Regions from separate parts of the Homo sapiens genome. Here all the other regions are linked to region 2. Evidence: promoter capture Hi-C in human tissues and cell types (Jung and others, 2019). All regions are on one chromosome and are shown on one strand. Each heading gives the region's core, a stretch centred on a gene start or on the middle of the fragment in contact. The rest is flanking DNA. Distances are from core to core; before and after follow the strand shown. Region 1 overlaps AGBL2 (AGBL carboxypeptidase 2). Region 2 holds the start of CKAP5 (cytoskeleton associated protein 5). Region 3 holds the start of MIR4487 (microRNA 4487).

What was found. Contacts are between HindIII fragments. The study calls those that stand out against the background at their distance.
Region 1: a fragment that was not itself captured here is called in contact with the fragment with the promoter of CKAP5 in region 2 in 1 of the 25 tissues and cell types used here (spleen).
Region 3: a fragment that was not itself captured here is called in contact with the fragment with the promoter of CKAP5 in region 2 in 2 of the 25 tissues and cell types used here (dorsolateral prefrontal cortex and lymphoblastoid cells).

Annotation. Positions count from the first base shown.
Region 1 is chr11:47,697,794-47,702,353 of GRCh38, forward strand. It overlaps AGBL2 (AGBL carboxypeptidase 2), which reads right to left. Exons shown (of 19, transcript NM_024783.4): 8 at 1,653-1,760. Among named protein-coding and RNA genes, the nearest start is that of AGBL2, 15 kb to the right of the region's middle. The HindIII fragment of the contact is 3,199 bases long and covers 1,015-4,213 here.
Region 2 is chr11:46,843,512-46,848,304 of GRCh38, forward strand. CKAP5 (cytoskeleton associated protein 5) reads right to left here and starts at 2,769. Exons shown (of 44, transcript NM_001008938.4): 1 at 2,709-2,769. It overlaps LRP4-AS1 (LRP4 antisense RNA 1), which reads left to right and starts at 2,900. Exons shown (of 3, transcript NR_038909.1): 1 at 2,900-2,988; 2 at 3,099-3,206. RefSeq lists enhancers at 48-953, 2,012-2,589, 3,044-3,163 and silencers at 2,424-2,573, 2,754-2,833. The HindIII fragment of the contact is 16,643 bases long and covers 1-4,793 here.
Region 3 is chr11:47,396,779-47,401,403 of GRCh38, forward strand. The region is part of intron 2 of SLC39A13-AS1 (SLC39A13 antisense RNA 1); the gene reads right to left. MIR4487 (microRNA 4487) reads left to right here and starts at 4,192; the gene lies at 4,192-4,264. RefSeq lists a silencer at 3,251-3,610 and an enhancer at 3,660-4,625. The HindIII fragment of the contact is 6,212 bases long and covers 1-4,625 here.

The sequences.
Region 1 (4,560 bases), core at 1,364-3,863, 850 kb after region 2:
CCTCAGACTCCCAAAGTGCTGGGATTACAGGCGTGAGTCATCGCGCCCGGCCTTTTTTTATTTTATTTTTTATTTTTTTTTAATGAGACGGAGTTTCACCCTTGTTGCCGAGGCTGGAGTGCAGTGGCGCCATCTTGGCTCACAGCAACCTCCAACTCCCAAGGTTTAAACGATTCTCCTGCCTCAGCCTCCTGAGTAGCTGGGTTTACAGGCGCCTGCCACCATGACTGGCTAATTTACTGTGTTTTAGTAGAGACAGAGTTTCACCATGTTGGGCAGGCTGGTCTCGAACTGCCGACCTCAGGTGATCTGCCCATCTTGGCCTCCCAAAGTGCTGGCATTACAGGTATGAGCCACCAAGCCCAGTCTACATAATTTTTTTTTTTTTTTTTTTTTTGAGACGGAGTTTCACTCTTGTTGCCCAGGCTGGAGTGCATGGCACGATCTTGGCTCACCACAACCTCTGCTTCCCAGGTTCAAGAGACTCTCCTGCCTTAGCCTCCCAAGTAGCTGGGATTGCAGGCATGCACTACCACACCTGGCTAATTTTGTATTTTCAGTAGAGATAGGGTTTCTCCATGTTGGTCAGGCTGGTCTGGAACTCCCAACCTCAGGTGGTCTGCCTGCCTCGGCCTCCCAAAGTGCTGGGATTATAGGCGTGAGCCACAGCGCCCAGCCACATTCTTATTTTTATTACTACTTTCCTGCTGCTTGCTTTGGGTTTAGTTGGCTCTTATTTTTCCAGTTTACTAAGGTAGAAGCTTAGGTAATTGATAAGAAGCCTTTTTCGTTTTGAAATTCAGGCACTTAAAGCCATAAATACCCATAAATATCCCTGGCACTGGTTCATTTTGTTTTGCATCCTATAACTTTTGATATGTTATGGTTTTATTTTCACTACATTCAAAATATTTTTGAAGTCTACTTGTGATTTCTTTAACCCACAGTTTATTTAGAAAGATGTTATTCAATTTCCACATATTTATGGATATCTCATATTTCATTCTGTTGTTGATTTCTAACTTAATTTTATTATGGTCAGAGAATGTACTTTGTATTATTTTAATCCTTTTACATGTATAAAAACTTCCATTACGGCCTAACATATGGTTTATCCTGGGGAATCTAACAGGTACCCTTAAAAAGAATGTGTATGACTTCAGTAGGAATGGCAAAAAAAAAAAAAAAAAAAGAATGAGTATTTTGTTGTTGTTAGGTATGGTGTTCTGCATATTTCTATAAAAGATATATATTCAATCCTTAGAAGCTTAAAACTCAACACAGGAAACTGCATTACTAAATGACAGTCATATGCACATAGAACAAAGTACTCACTAAAGTACGTATAACAGGTGGAGAAAAGAAATCTCCCCAAAGATGATCCAACATCTGATTTTCAGGAAGGAGAATAACAAGAGAGAAGCTGTAAAATGGACTTAGAACTATTAAAAATAATGTACTTTGATTTTAGAAAATTATCGAAATTTTGCAGCAGACTGGTTATGACTCCTCCTCCAGGCTCCCACTCATGTTGGCCTGGAAAAGAGTTTACCACTAAACTATGGATTTTTAAAATCACTTTTATTATGGAACATATGTTTATTATAACTTTGTCATGATTAACCATTCATTGTTCAGTGTAATGACAATACCTGAATCTAATTGATAGACAACTGTTCCTTTTTTCTCTCCTACAATCTCTGGTACCTTTTCATTTCCTTTAGGCTGATAGAAATATTCTGGTTGAGGTGGAGCCCACTCTGAAAGAAGACATTTTAAAAAGTACAAAATAAGAAATAATGTAAACGGCACTATCAGAACTAATATAAAATAATAATAATAATTTTTCAAATGGCTAGTTTGGTTGAATCAAACCAAATTCCCACCCTAAATTTCCTGCTTGTTTATAAAATAATTATGTCTTGTTTCTTTCTATAAAGACTTATGAGGACACTTTTAACAAAGAGCATATAAAATGAAATATAAACTATCCATAGAAGACCTAAGAATAAGTCAGAAAGGTCAATATAGCTGCTGCAACAGCTCTTCAAAATTTGGCCCTGAGTTTCCTTAAAGTGAGCAAAATATGGTCATTAACATAATTTTTTTTATTACCATAGAGGACTAGGTCTATCAATTGTTTCAGAGGAAGCAAGCCTTTTTCTTTTCTTTCTTTTTTTTTGAGATGGAGTCTTGCTCTATTGCTCAGGCTAGAGTGCAATGGTGCAATCTCGGCTCACCGCAACCTCCGCCTCCCGGGTTCAAGCGATTCTCTCGCCTCAGCCTCCTGAGTAGCTGGGATTACAGACATGTGCCACCACTCCCGGCTAATTTTGTATTTTTAGTAGAGACAGGGTTTCTCCATGTTGGTCAGGCTGGTCTCAAACTCTCGACCTCAGGTGATCCGCCCTCCTCTGCCTCCCAAACTGCTGGGATTACAGGTGTGAGCCACTGTGCCTAGCGAAGGCTTTTTCATTAACACTGAATTTAAAAAGATTTCTTTGGCTGGGTGCAGCGGCTTATGCCTGTAATCCCAGCACTTTGGGAGGACAAGGTGGGTAGATTACCTGAGGTCGGGAGTTCGAGACCAGCCTGGCCAACATAGTGAAACTCTGCCTCTACTAAAAATACAAAAATTAGCCGGGTATTGTGGCATGTGCCTGTAGTCCCAGCTACTCGGGAGGCTGAGGTAGGAGAATCGCTCTAACCTGGGAGGCGGAGGTTGCAGTGAACCGAGATCACGCCACTGCGTGCCAGCCTGGGCGAACAGAGCAAGACTCTGTCTCAAAATAAATTTAAAACAAACAAACCAACAAACAAACAAACAAACATTTCCTTTACGGAACTTGAACTTTTCAATATCATTTTTAGAAGAGTAGCCACTGATGAATTCCAAGAGCATATAAAGATACACCTCAGTCAAATATTACATGAATTTATTTTCTCGAAGATTATAGGAAGTGATGAGGCTTTCACAATTTAGTTTAAACAATAAGGTGCTTGCATGCCTGTAATCCCAGCACTTTGGGAGGCCAAGGAGAGTGAATCATGAGGTCAGGAGATCGAGACCAGCCTGGCCAACACGGTGAAACCCCGTCTCTATTAAAAAATACAAAAATTAGCCGAGTTACAGTGGGCACCTGTAATCCCAGCTACTCAGGAGGCTGAGGCAGAATTGCTTGAACCCAGGAGACAGAGGCTGCAGTGAGCTGACGCGGTGCCACCGCACTCCAGCCTGGGCGACAGAGTGAGACTCTGTCTCAAAAAAAAAAACAAACAAACAACCAATAAGGTGCTTATTAATACAATTTAGTTTAAACAATAAGGTGTTTGTTAATAAGTTTCTTTGAAACATTTTTTTAAAAATTGCTTTATAAAAGATCATGTAGTTGGCTGGGCGCAGTGAGTGGCTCACGCCTGTAATCCCAGCACTTTGGGAGGCCGAAGCGGGCGGATCATGAGGTCAGGAGTTCGAGACCAGCCTGACCAACATGGTGAAACCCCGTCTCTACTAAAAAAAGTAAAAAATTAGCCAGGCGTGGTGGTGCACACCTGTAATCCCAGCTACTCAGGAGGCTGAGGAGGGAGATTGCTTGAACCTGGGAGGCGGAGGTTGCAGTGAGCCGAGATTGTGCCATTGCACTCCAGACTGGGCGACAGAGCAAGACTCCGTCTCAAAAAAAAAAAAAAAAAAGATCTTGTAGTTTAGTGAATTACCACAGCATTAACTTGGTTATTAAATTCCAGTGTCCTTGCTGGGGGTGGTGGCTCACACCTGTAATCTCAGCACTTTAGGAGGCCAGGAGGATCATTTGAGGCCAGGAGTTTGGGAGTAGCCTGGGCAACATAGTGAGACCATGTGTCTCTACAAAAAAACTATTTAAAAATGAGCCAGGTGGCCGGGCACAGTGGCTTACACCTGTAATCCCAGCACTTTGGGAGGCTGAGGCAGGCAGATCACTTGAGGTCATGAGTTCGAGACCAGCCTGGCCTACATGGTGAAACCCCGTCTCTACCAAAAATATAAAAAATGAGCAGAGTGTGGTGGCACGTGCCTGTAATCCCAGCTACTTGGGAGGCTGTGGCAGAGAAGCACTTGAACCTGGGAGGCGGAGGTTGCAGTGAGCCAAGATCATGCCACTGCACTCCAGCCTGGGCGACAGAGCGAGACTCTGTTCTCAAAAAAAAAAAAAAAAAAAGAAAAAAAATTAGCCAGGCATGGTGGTGCACGCCTATAGTCCTAGCTACTCAGGAGGCTGAGAGGGGAGGATGGCTTGTGCCCAGGAGTTCAAGGCTGCAGTGAGCTATGATTGCACCACTGCACTCCAGCCTGAGTGACAGAACAAGACCCTGTCTCAAAAATAAAATATAAAGTCAAATAAACTCTACTTTTATTTTTTCCCTATATTTTCAGACTCTTCTCTTGTTTTTAATGCTCAATGTTCTATGGTTGCCCAAGCATGCCATGCTCTTTTTCTGTTTCTTCCAACTGAAATACTTTTCTTTGACCCTCTTAATTGGATCATTTCGAACTCATCCTTTAGATCTCAGCTTAGTTGT
Region 2 (4,793 bases), core at 1,519-4,018:
CTTGAGCCCAGGAGTTCGAGACCAGCCTGGGCAACAAGGCAAAACCCCATCGCTACAAAAACTAAAAAAATTTGCCAGGCATGGTGATGCACGTCTGTAGTCCCAGCTACCGGAAGGCTGAGATGGGAGGATCACCTGAGCCCTGGAGGTGGAGGCTGCAGTGACCCATAATAGCAGCACTGCACTCCAGCCAGGGCGAAAGAGTGAGATCTGATTGAAAAAAAAAAAAAAAAAAAATTGAGAGAACACAAAGATGTAAGTGTTGACAGAACTATGAAAGTTGGAAGCTGTGTCTCCTATATGTAAATGTGTTTTATTAGGAATGGATATTATGTCTGGCTGGGGAACACTTCCCCTACCTAGTATTGCAAAAACAAAACCTGTTGATAAAGTCCTAATAGAAGCTACAGTTAGAAAAGTGAGGGTTAGCCAGGTGTGGTGGCTCACACCTGTAATCCCAACACTTTGGGAAGCTGAGGCGGGTGGATCATTTGAGGTCAGGAGTTCGAGACCAGCCTGGCCAACATAGTGAAACCCTGTCTCTACTAAAAATACAAAAAATTAGCTGGGCATTGTGGTGCACACAAGAAGTCCCAGCTACTTGGGAGGCTGAGGTGGCAGAATCGCTTGAACCCAGGAGGCAGAGGTTGCAGTCAGCTGAGATCGCACCACTGCACTCTAGCCTGGGCGAAAGAGCAAGACTCTGTCTTAAAAAAAAAAAAAAAGGAAAAGAAAGTGAGTGTTGATGGAATTAAGATAAAAGTTTACAGGAGAGTTGGTATATTCAAACACACTTCATATGAGAGCATAAGAGCTCCACACCCTTCTCCCATACCTACAAGCCCTACGCCTCTCTTCATCTGTATGCTTTGTAGCATCCTTTACAATAAACCGTGAAGGTAAAAAACAAACAAACAAACAAACAAAAAACACCAAAAAAACAGGTGCTGCTAAAACTGAACTGTCAGTAGTAGAAGACTGCGATGGAATTACCACACCCACTGTTCATAATTCAAACATAATTCAAAACTGATCAAGACTTTAAAGTAATGGAGAATAAAGTAAAAGGCATGTTAATTGTTACGGAATACCTTTGCTTGCCATTGCCTCAGTGAACAGCCTTTTAAAAAATTTTTTTTCTTTTTTTTGAGACAGAGGGTCGCTCTGTCACCCAGGCTAGAGTGCAATGGCGGGATCTTGGCTCACTGCAACCTCTGTCTCCCGGGTTCAAATGATTCTCTTGCCTCGGCCTCCCGAGTAGCTAGGATTACAGGCGCCCGCCATCACGCCCAGCCATTTTTTGTATTTTTAGTAGAGAGAGAGAGAGAGAGACGGGGTTTCACCATGTTGGCCCGACTGGTCTCAAACTCCTGACCTCGTGATCCGCCCGCCTCGGCCTCCCAAAGTGTTGGGATTACAGGCGTCAGCCACCGCGCCCAGCCTAAAATCTTATTTAAAAATTTTTTTACATGAGTTTACCAACTAGATTTAACTTATGGTTGCAAAATAAATTGATTTCACCTTTATCTATATCATTAAATTTGGTAAAAGCATTACAGTTTGTCCAGTCACTTCAGAGAAGTCAAAGTCTTCTACAATTTCTTAAAGTTTCAAAAGATTCTTAGCTTAATTTATTGGCTCTTTAGGTCAAAAGAAGGACTTTTCAGGGTGATGAAAATGGAGGAAGGAGGAGCTCACCTTTCTAAAAATGAGTTTTCAATTACTATAATTATGCATAAGACAGGCAGCATTTCTGGGCCAAGATTTGATGCCTTGGTCCCATGAGAATTAAATTAGAGCCACGCATAAATTTGGGGCAAGTTCTGCAAAAACCACTTCAACCTCTATTGATGCTGAATAAAAAACTCATTGTTAAGATTCATCAACACGAATATATTTTCTAACACACACTAGCCACTCTGGCAACAACCCTTTCATCATTTTCTATCCAAGAAACACAACGGAATGCATTTCAATCCTGCTCAACAATTACCACGATTACAAGTAGAGGGGAGAGCTCAAAAGTAAGAATCTAGTTCACCGAGCCCGACCTTAAAGTAGCAAGGCCCAACCCACACTGCTGGCTATTGTATTGGTTCCCCAACACCTCCAGGGCTGGAAGGACACCAGAACGCTCCCGACACGTTGAGAGAGAGAAAGCCAGTCGTTAAGGGCGGGGTGGTGGATGATCGGAATCGTTCACATCGCAGCAAGCCAGCAGGGACACAGGTGTGCGGCCAGGCCCCGGTGCCGCTGTCCTTGCTCCAGGGCGACAAGGCCCTTCGCAACCACCACAGCCCTCGTAGGCGCTTACTTATTCATTCACTTGACAATTACGCGAGAGGCACTCTAGCAGGGCCGGCTCTCGGGGCCCCCGCCCTAGTCTTGGTAAATCGCTGCCGCCAGGCGCGGCCCTGCACCGCCCGCGCCCCGCGGACGCTGCCACCCGCGCCACGCTGCGGCGCGCTCTGGCCACCTGGAGCCCAACCCCGGCCTCCGCCGCACACGAGCGCCCACGCCCCCGGCCCTGCCCGCCGCAGGTCCCCCGGCCTCCGGCTCGCTTCGCCGCCTCAGACCTGCCGGGTTCGTGGGGCAAGTGGGGCGCGCGTCTGGAGACCTCCAGCCGCCCAGGATTCAGGGGCTCCTCTGCGCGCGCGATGCCTGCACTCGAGGGCCTCGCGGGTGGGGCAGGCCCACCGACCACTCACCTCAGCTGGGTCAGAACCAAGCGGCCTGCTCTAAGCCGTTTGAAACCGCTTGGGCCGCCGCACACCCCGCAGTGTCCTCGTTCTTTATTGGTCCTCGACGGACCGCCCATCGGACTTTTATTGGTCCATTTGAAAGGCCTGTGGGCACGCGCCGCCCGCAGCCTTAAAGGGGCCGCGCGCAGCCGTGTTTCCCTCTGGACCAGACGCCGCCTGCACGGGTGGGGACGCTGGTCGCTGCCGGGGGCAAGTCTGCCGACTCCAGAAAGAAAGGCGAAAGAATGTGTGTAGACCCGGGCATCCTTGGTCGTCAGCATGTTTGCTTTATTTAATTACAGATGTTCAGGCTGCTGTCAACACCCGACAATTTTTTTTGGTCATTTCATTCCCTAGAGATTGTGAAGCTAAGTGCTGTGAGGGAAACCAGAGGCAGCTGAGATGTCGTGGAAGTAACAGCGAATGAAGCCAGGATGCTGGATTCTGACCTTGGAACTGTTCTGAGTAAATCACTTTTCTCAGTAAATCTTCTGGAGTTGTTTCCTTATCTGTAAAATGGGATAACGATGTTTCCCTTACAATTTAATGGAGGAGTTAATATAACTAATAGAATGTCTGAGAAAAGCCTTTGTGAACTGTAACGCATCCTGCAAATGCTTAATATTCCCTTATAAAAACGAGAGGCTTGGTTAACATGATCTCCAGAATTTTAGCTTAGCTCTACATTCAGTGTTTCTGTGAATGAGTTCAGGTCCTTACTTCCAAGGAATTTGTAATCTACAGTGGTTGGAGGAATATAACATACAGACTAGTCACTAAAATTCAAAGCAGTGTAATAACTGTATAAATGAAAAGCTATAAATGCTTAGAGACAGGAGAAATTTGATGGGGGAGGATCTGTGAGGAAGATGAATTTTTAACCTAGGATTTAAAGAATGTGTAGATTCCCAACAGGCTAAAAGATGGAGAGAGGATGGATAAAAGTAAATGAAACAATTACATGTTTTTTCATTGTCAAGTTGGCAGAGATGAAAAAGTTCAACAGCCTTTGGTTGGTCAAGATTTGGAAAAACAGGCTGGGTGCAATGGCTTATGCCTGTAATCCTAGCGCTTTGGGAGGCCGAGGCAGGAGGATTGCTTGAGGCCAGGAGTTCAAGACCAACCTGGGTCTTGCTATCAAGACCCCATCTCTGTTTTTAAAAATATAAAGAGATTTGGAAAAATGGACACTCAAAGTCAATATTGGTAAGAGTATAATTGGTACAAACCTTTAGGAGGACAATTTGACAGTTACTAAAATGTACATAATCTAGTTCTGGCCCAGTAATCCACTATGAGGAATTTATCGTACAGATCTGTGCAAGTATGCAAAGAAAAATGTACAAGGATGTTTACTGCAATACTGCTTTTTTTTTTTTTTTTTTTGAGACAGTCTCGCTCTGTCGCCCAGGCTGGAGTGCAGTGGCGCAATCTCAGCTCACTGCAACCTCCGCCTCCCGTGTTCAAGCGATTCTCCTGCCTCAGCCTCCTGAGTAGCTGGGACTACAGGCACGTGCCATCACACCTGGCTAATTTTTTGTAGTTTTAGTAGAGACGGAGTTGCACTGTGTTAGCCAGGCTGGTCTTGATCTGCTGACCTCGTGATCCTCCCGCCTGGGCCTCCCAAAGTGCTGGGATTACAGGCGTGAGCCACTGCACCCGGCTTTTTTTTTTTTTTTTTCTGACAGAGTCTCTCTCATGTCACCCGGGCTGTAGTGCAATGGCGTGATCTTGGCTCACTGCAACCTCCATCTCCCGGGTTCAAGCAATTCTCCTGCCTCAGGCTCCCAAGTAGCTGGGATTACAGGCACCTGCCACCACGCCCGGCTAATTATTTTTTATTGTATTTTTAACAGAGATGGGGTTTCACCATGTTGGTCAAGCTGGTTTCAAACTCCTGACTTCAGGTCATCCACCTGCCTCAGCCTCCCAAAGTGCCGAGATTACAGGCGTGAGCCACTGTGCCCGGCCCTTTTTTTTTTTTCTTTTTTTTTCTTTTGAGATGAAGTCTCGCTCTCTCGCCCAGGCTGGAGTGCGATGGCACCATCTCAG
Region 3 (4,625 bases), core at 1,723-4,222, 550 kb after region 2:
CCCGAGGTCAGGAGTTCGAGACCAGCCTGGCCAACATAGTGGAACCCCATCTCTACTAAAAATACAAAAATTAGCCAGGTGTGGTGGCACGCACCTGTAGTCTCAGCTACTTGAGAGGCTGAGGCGGGAGAATAGCTTGAACCCGGGAGGCGGAGGTTGCAGTGAGCCGAGACCATGCCATTGCACTCCAGCCTGGGTGACAGAGTGAGACTGTCTCAAAATAAATAAATAAATAAAATAAAATAAGTAAATAAACAAATGGAGAAATGCCTAGCTCAGAAGTTTGCAATGAGGGACAAATGAGGCTGTGGAGTGGGGCCTTGGGGTAATCGTTTGGCCGGCAACACACTGCGGCCACCCACCTGTCGCCCCCCTCTCACCTGCCTGAGTTGGGGTGAACACTCCAGCTCGCCACTCTTCTCTGAGAACCCCCAGGGCCCCTCCCTGGCCTCCCTCTGGCCCTTCCTGACCTGGAGGAGTCCTGAAGCTGAGGTTCCCAGCCCCACCCTCAAGGTGCTCCCTCTCTGGGACAGAAACCTTAGAGGCCCCAACTCCCACCTTGGCAGGACTCCCCAGTTCTGCTCACACTCTGTGCCCCTCACATGACATCCCCACTGCTGCCCCGAGACTGTCTTAATAACTAGAGGTATTCACCAGGCACTCTACATACACAGCATCTTGTAATCCTTGACGATGCAGGTATTCTCATCCCCATTTCACAGATAAGGAAACTGAGGCTCGGGGAGGACTGACAGGTGCAAGCTCAGCTGGCTAGAAAGGGGCAGCACTGGCCGGGCGCAATGGCTCACACCTGTAATCTCAGCACATTGGGAAGCCAAGGCAAGTGGATCACCTGAGGTCAGGAATTCGAGACCAGTCTGGCCAACATGGTGAAACCCCATCTCTACTAAAAATACAAAAATTAGCTGGGCATGGTGGCGGGCAGCTGTAATCCCAGCTACTCAGGAGGCTGAGGCACAAGAATAGCTTGAACCCAGGAGGCGGAGGTTGCAGTGAGCCGATATCATGCCATTGCACTCCAGCCTAGGTAACAGGGTGACAAAGCAAGACTCCGTCTCAAAAAAAAAAAAAAAAAAAAAGTAAAAGAAAGGGGCAATGCTGAGATGAGAACTCAGTTTTCCTGTGTGCCCATCCAGTGGAAGTCCCATGCAAACCCTGAGGCAAAGCAGCATCTCTTTGGAAAAAGACTTCAAGCCTTTTAGAGTCTCACTGCTGCCTCCAGGCCCACGGCCACCACCTCTTCCCAGCTCCCCTACCCTGTCCCTATTCTCAGTTGTCCTGCTTCTCCTGGTCCAGGCTGGAGGATATCAGAGTTGAAAAAATTCCAGCCTCAGGTGCCCATGGGACCAGAGAGATGATAAAATCCAGAAAGGGGATGAGCCAGGCTCCCCTTGGCTCTCAGCCCTGGGCATGAACACGTAACAGTGGGACTTAACTCCCTGGGAGACAGGCCCAAAGAGGCAGCATTCCTGGTGGTGAGACCTGAGTGCATCTGCACCAGACATTTCCGCATTTAAATCTCAGCTCTGCAATGGAGAGACCACCCCCTGGGTAAGTGACAACATGAAAATGGGAGAAAATGCCTCTCCTGGCCTGGAGATCTCACAGGAGGGAAATGTGTTTCTAACAGCCATGGGCCCAGCCCTCCTTCAGGCACCGGCTCTGTCCAGTAGGTACGATTATTACTCCCATTTTACATACGAGGAAACCCAGGGAAAAGAGATGTCCCAAGGTCACACAGCCTTGCAGGGGCTTGAACCCCAATCCTGTCTAACTCCAAGTCCCATGCACTTACATATACCTGAGAGCCCCTCCTTCCTTTTCTCCTAGGAGTTCTTCTGTACCTTCCTAGCTTGCAGGGTTGGGGCCCTGGGTGGCAAGTTGAACCATGACTGGATGGGACTGGAGGGCTTGGCCCTGCCTGGCTGAGGCTGCAGTCTGCAAATACCTGACTGCCCTTGCTCTTGGTTGGGCTGAGGGACTGCTGCCTGGGCATGCAAGGGGTTGGGGACCAGCTGCAGCGGCACCTCCCTGACATATTGCCTTGGGCCACCCTGCCCTCTAAGCTTGTTGGTGTCTGACTTTCTTGGGAGAGGGGTATAACCCCTTCCAGGGGGCCTGCATGGTGGGGCTGAGACACTAAGAAAGCTGCATTTGAGCTTCCTCACTGGCTCAGCTCCTTCTGAGGCCCTGGAAGGGGTCTCAGCAATTTTGTTTTTGTTTTTTATTTTTTTGGTTTTTTTTTTGATGAAGTCTCACTCTATTGCCCAGGCTGGAATGCAGTGACACAATCTCGGCTCACTGCAACCTCTGCCTCCCGGGTTCAAGTAATTTTGCTGCCTCAGCCTCCCGAGTAGCTGGGACTACAGGAGAGCGCCACCACGCCTGGCTAATTATTTTATTTTATGTTTTGTATTTTTAGTAGAGACAGGATTTCACCACGTTGGCCAGGCTGGTCTCGAACTCCTGACCTCAGGTGATCCACCCACCTTGGCCTCCCAAAGTGTTGAGATTACAGGTGTGAGCCACCGCGAACGGCTGTTTTGTTTTGTTTTGTTTTGTTTTTGTTTTTTGTTTTGAGACAGAGTTTAGCTCTGTCACCCAGACTGGAGTGCAGTGGTGCGATCATCTCAGCTCACTGCAACCTCTGCCTCCCGGGTTCAACGATTCTCCTGCCTCAGTCTCCCGAGTAGCTGGGATTACAGGCGCCCACCATCACGTCCAGCTAATTTGTGTATTTTAGTAGAGACAGGGTTTCACCATGTTGGCCAGGCTGGTCTGGAACTCCTGACGTCAAGTGATCCGCCCACCTTGGCTTCCCAAGGTGCTGGGATTACAGGTGTGAGCCACTGCGCCCAGCCTCTCAGCAATTTTGTATTTGTGACTTTGTAATCTTTTCCTTAAAGAGTGCCCCCCCAAATGGTTTTAAGCTTCAGGCTCCTGGGAACCTAGATCTGTCCCCAGGGTGGGGCGGTGGAAAGCGTTCCAACCCCCTCCCACTTGCTTTTTGCATGCTGGCTCTGGGGCTTTGGGTGAAACTCCCCACTTTGCCATCTATACAATGGGGATGAATGAGGCGATGCGATGCTTAGAGGACCCTCTGTTCAAAACTCGCCCAACCCACAGAGACCTTCACAAGCCTGCACTTGGTCCATCACCAACAGCCCTGTGGGGAAAACCGAGCTCCTACCCCCATTTTCCAGCTGAGATAACTGAGGCGTGAAGCCCCGCTGCCGCTCGTCGCTGAGGCTGTGAGCAGGCTGGAGCCTCATCCCCCACTGCTCCCTGGGGTCTCCTCCCGGGATGCCAAGCCTGGGTAGCAGGAGGGGGTCTCCAGGGTGCGGGGGCGCTCTGGGGAGGCCGGGGGCGGAGGCGGTGTCCCGCACTGTCCCACCGCAGGGCCGACCTCGGCCCTTATCTGCTCCGGCAGCTTCCGCCCCCCAACTCCAGCCCCCGCCGCAGGCCCGGCCCCCGGCCCCGCCCCCCTAGGGCCCCTCCCCCGCGCCGCCCGCCCCCAGGGGAGCGCCCGAGCTGCCCGGCTGCGGCCCAGTCGAGCGGAGAGGGGGCCCAGCCCCCCCAGGTGGGCAGCCGGAAGTGATAAATAACCGAGACGGGGGGGGGGGGACACCATTGCAGTGAGGCCCGAGTTGTCCCGGGATACTCGCCCACAACCCAATAGGAGCTCCCCAAACTAAGTTGTCTTCGCCAAAAATGGGAGGGGGTCTGAGAAGGAAGAGGAAAGGGGTTCCTTAAGGCCCCAGGGACAAGAGGAACAGTGGAGTCAGTTTAAACAGGGCTCTGAGAGGCACACGACCTCCCCCCACACTAACAATGCCAAGTGGCCTCCCTGGGACAGGTGTGGGGGGGGGAGAGAGAAGCGGAGACACCTCAGAGAAAGTGAAAAGGAAGTCACAACTGGAGATGCCTGCGGAGTGCAGCGGGGCATAGCCTCAAAAATACATAAGGAACTCTTGCAAATCAAGGAAAAGAAAATCAAGCAATCCAATATAAAAAAATAGATAACACACACGCAGCGCAGGCATGTTAGGGCAGAGAAAACGAATTTGCTCAAATACCATCTAAGGGAGGCTCAGCCTCACTGCTGATGAGGGCGATGCAAATTCAGACCACAATGAGATGCTATTTACACCATCTGAAGGGCAGAAGGGAACTGTCCTTCAGCCAGAGCTGGCTGAAGGGCAGAAGGGAACTGTCCTTCAGCCAGAGCTGGCTGAAGGGCAGAAGGGAACTGTCCTTCAGCCAGAGCTGGCAAGGAGGGGAGCAGCAGGCCCTCCTGCATGTGGCTAGTCAGGATGCGGCTCCAAATAGCCCCCTAGGGAGAGCAATCTGGCCTTATCTCACGAAGTGGAGGTACAGAGGCTGTCACCCACACATCCCCCCAGGCAGCAAATCAAGATAAGTTCTCTGACAAGTGCGCCAAGAGACAGGGACAAAAATATTCACGTTGTCCCTAATAGCAAAAAAAATCCTGAAATAACCCCAGGGCCCACTGATAAGAGAATGGATAAATAAATTACAGTAGACACATTCACAGGGTGGAGATCATTCAGCAATGCAAGCAGGTGACCCACAGGTTCACCAAT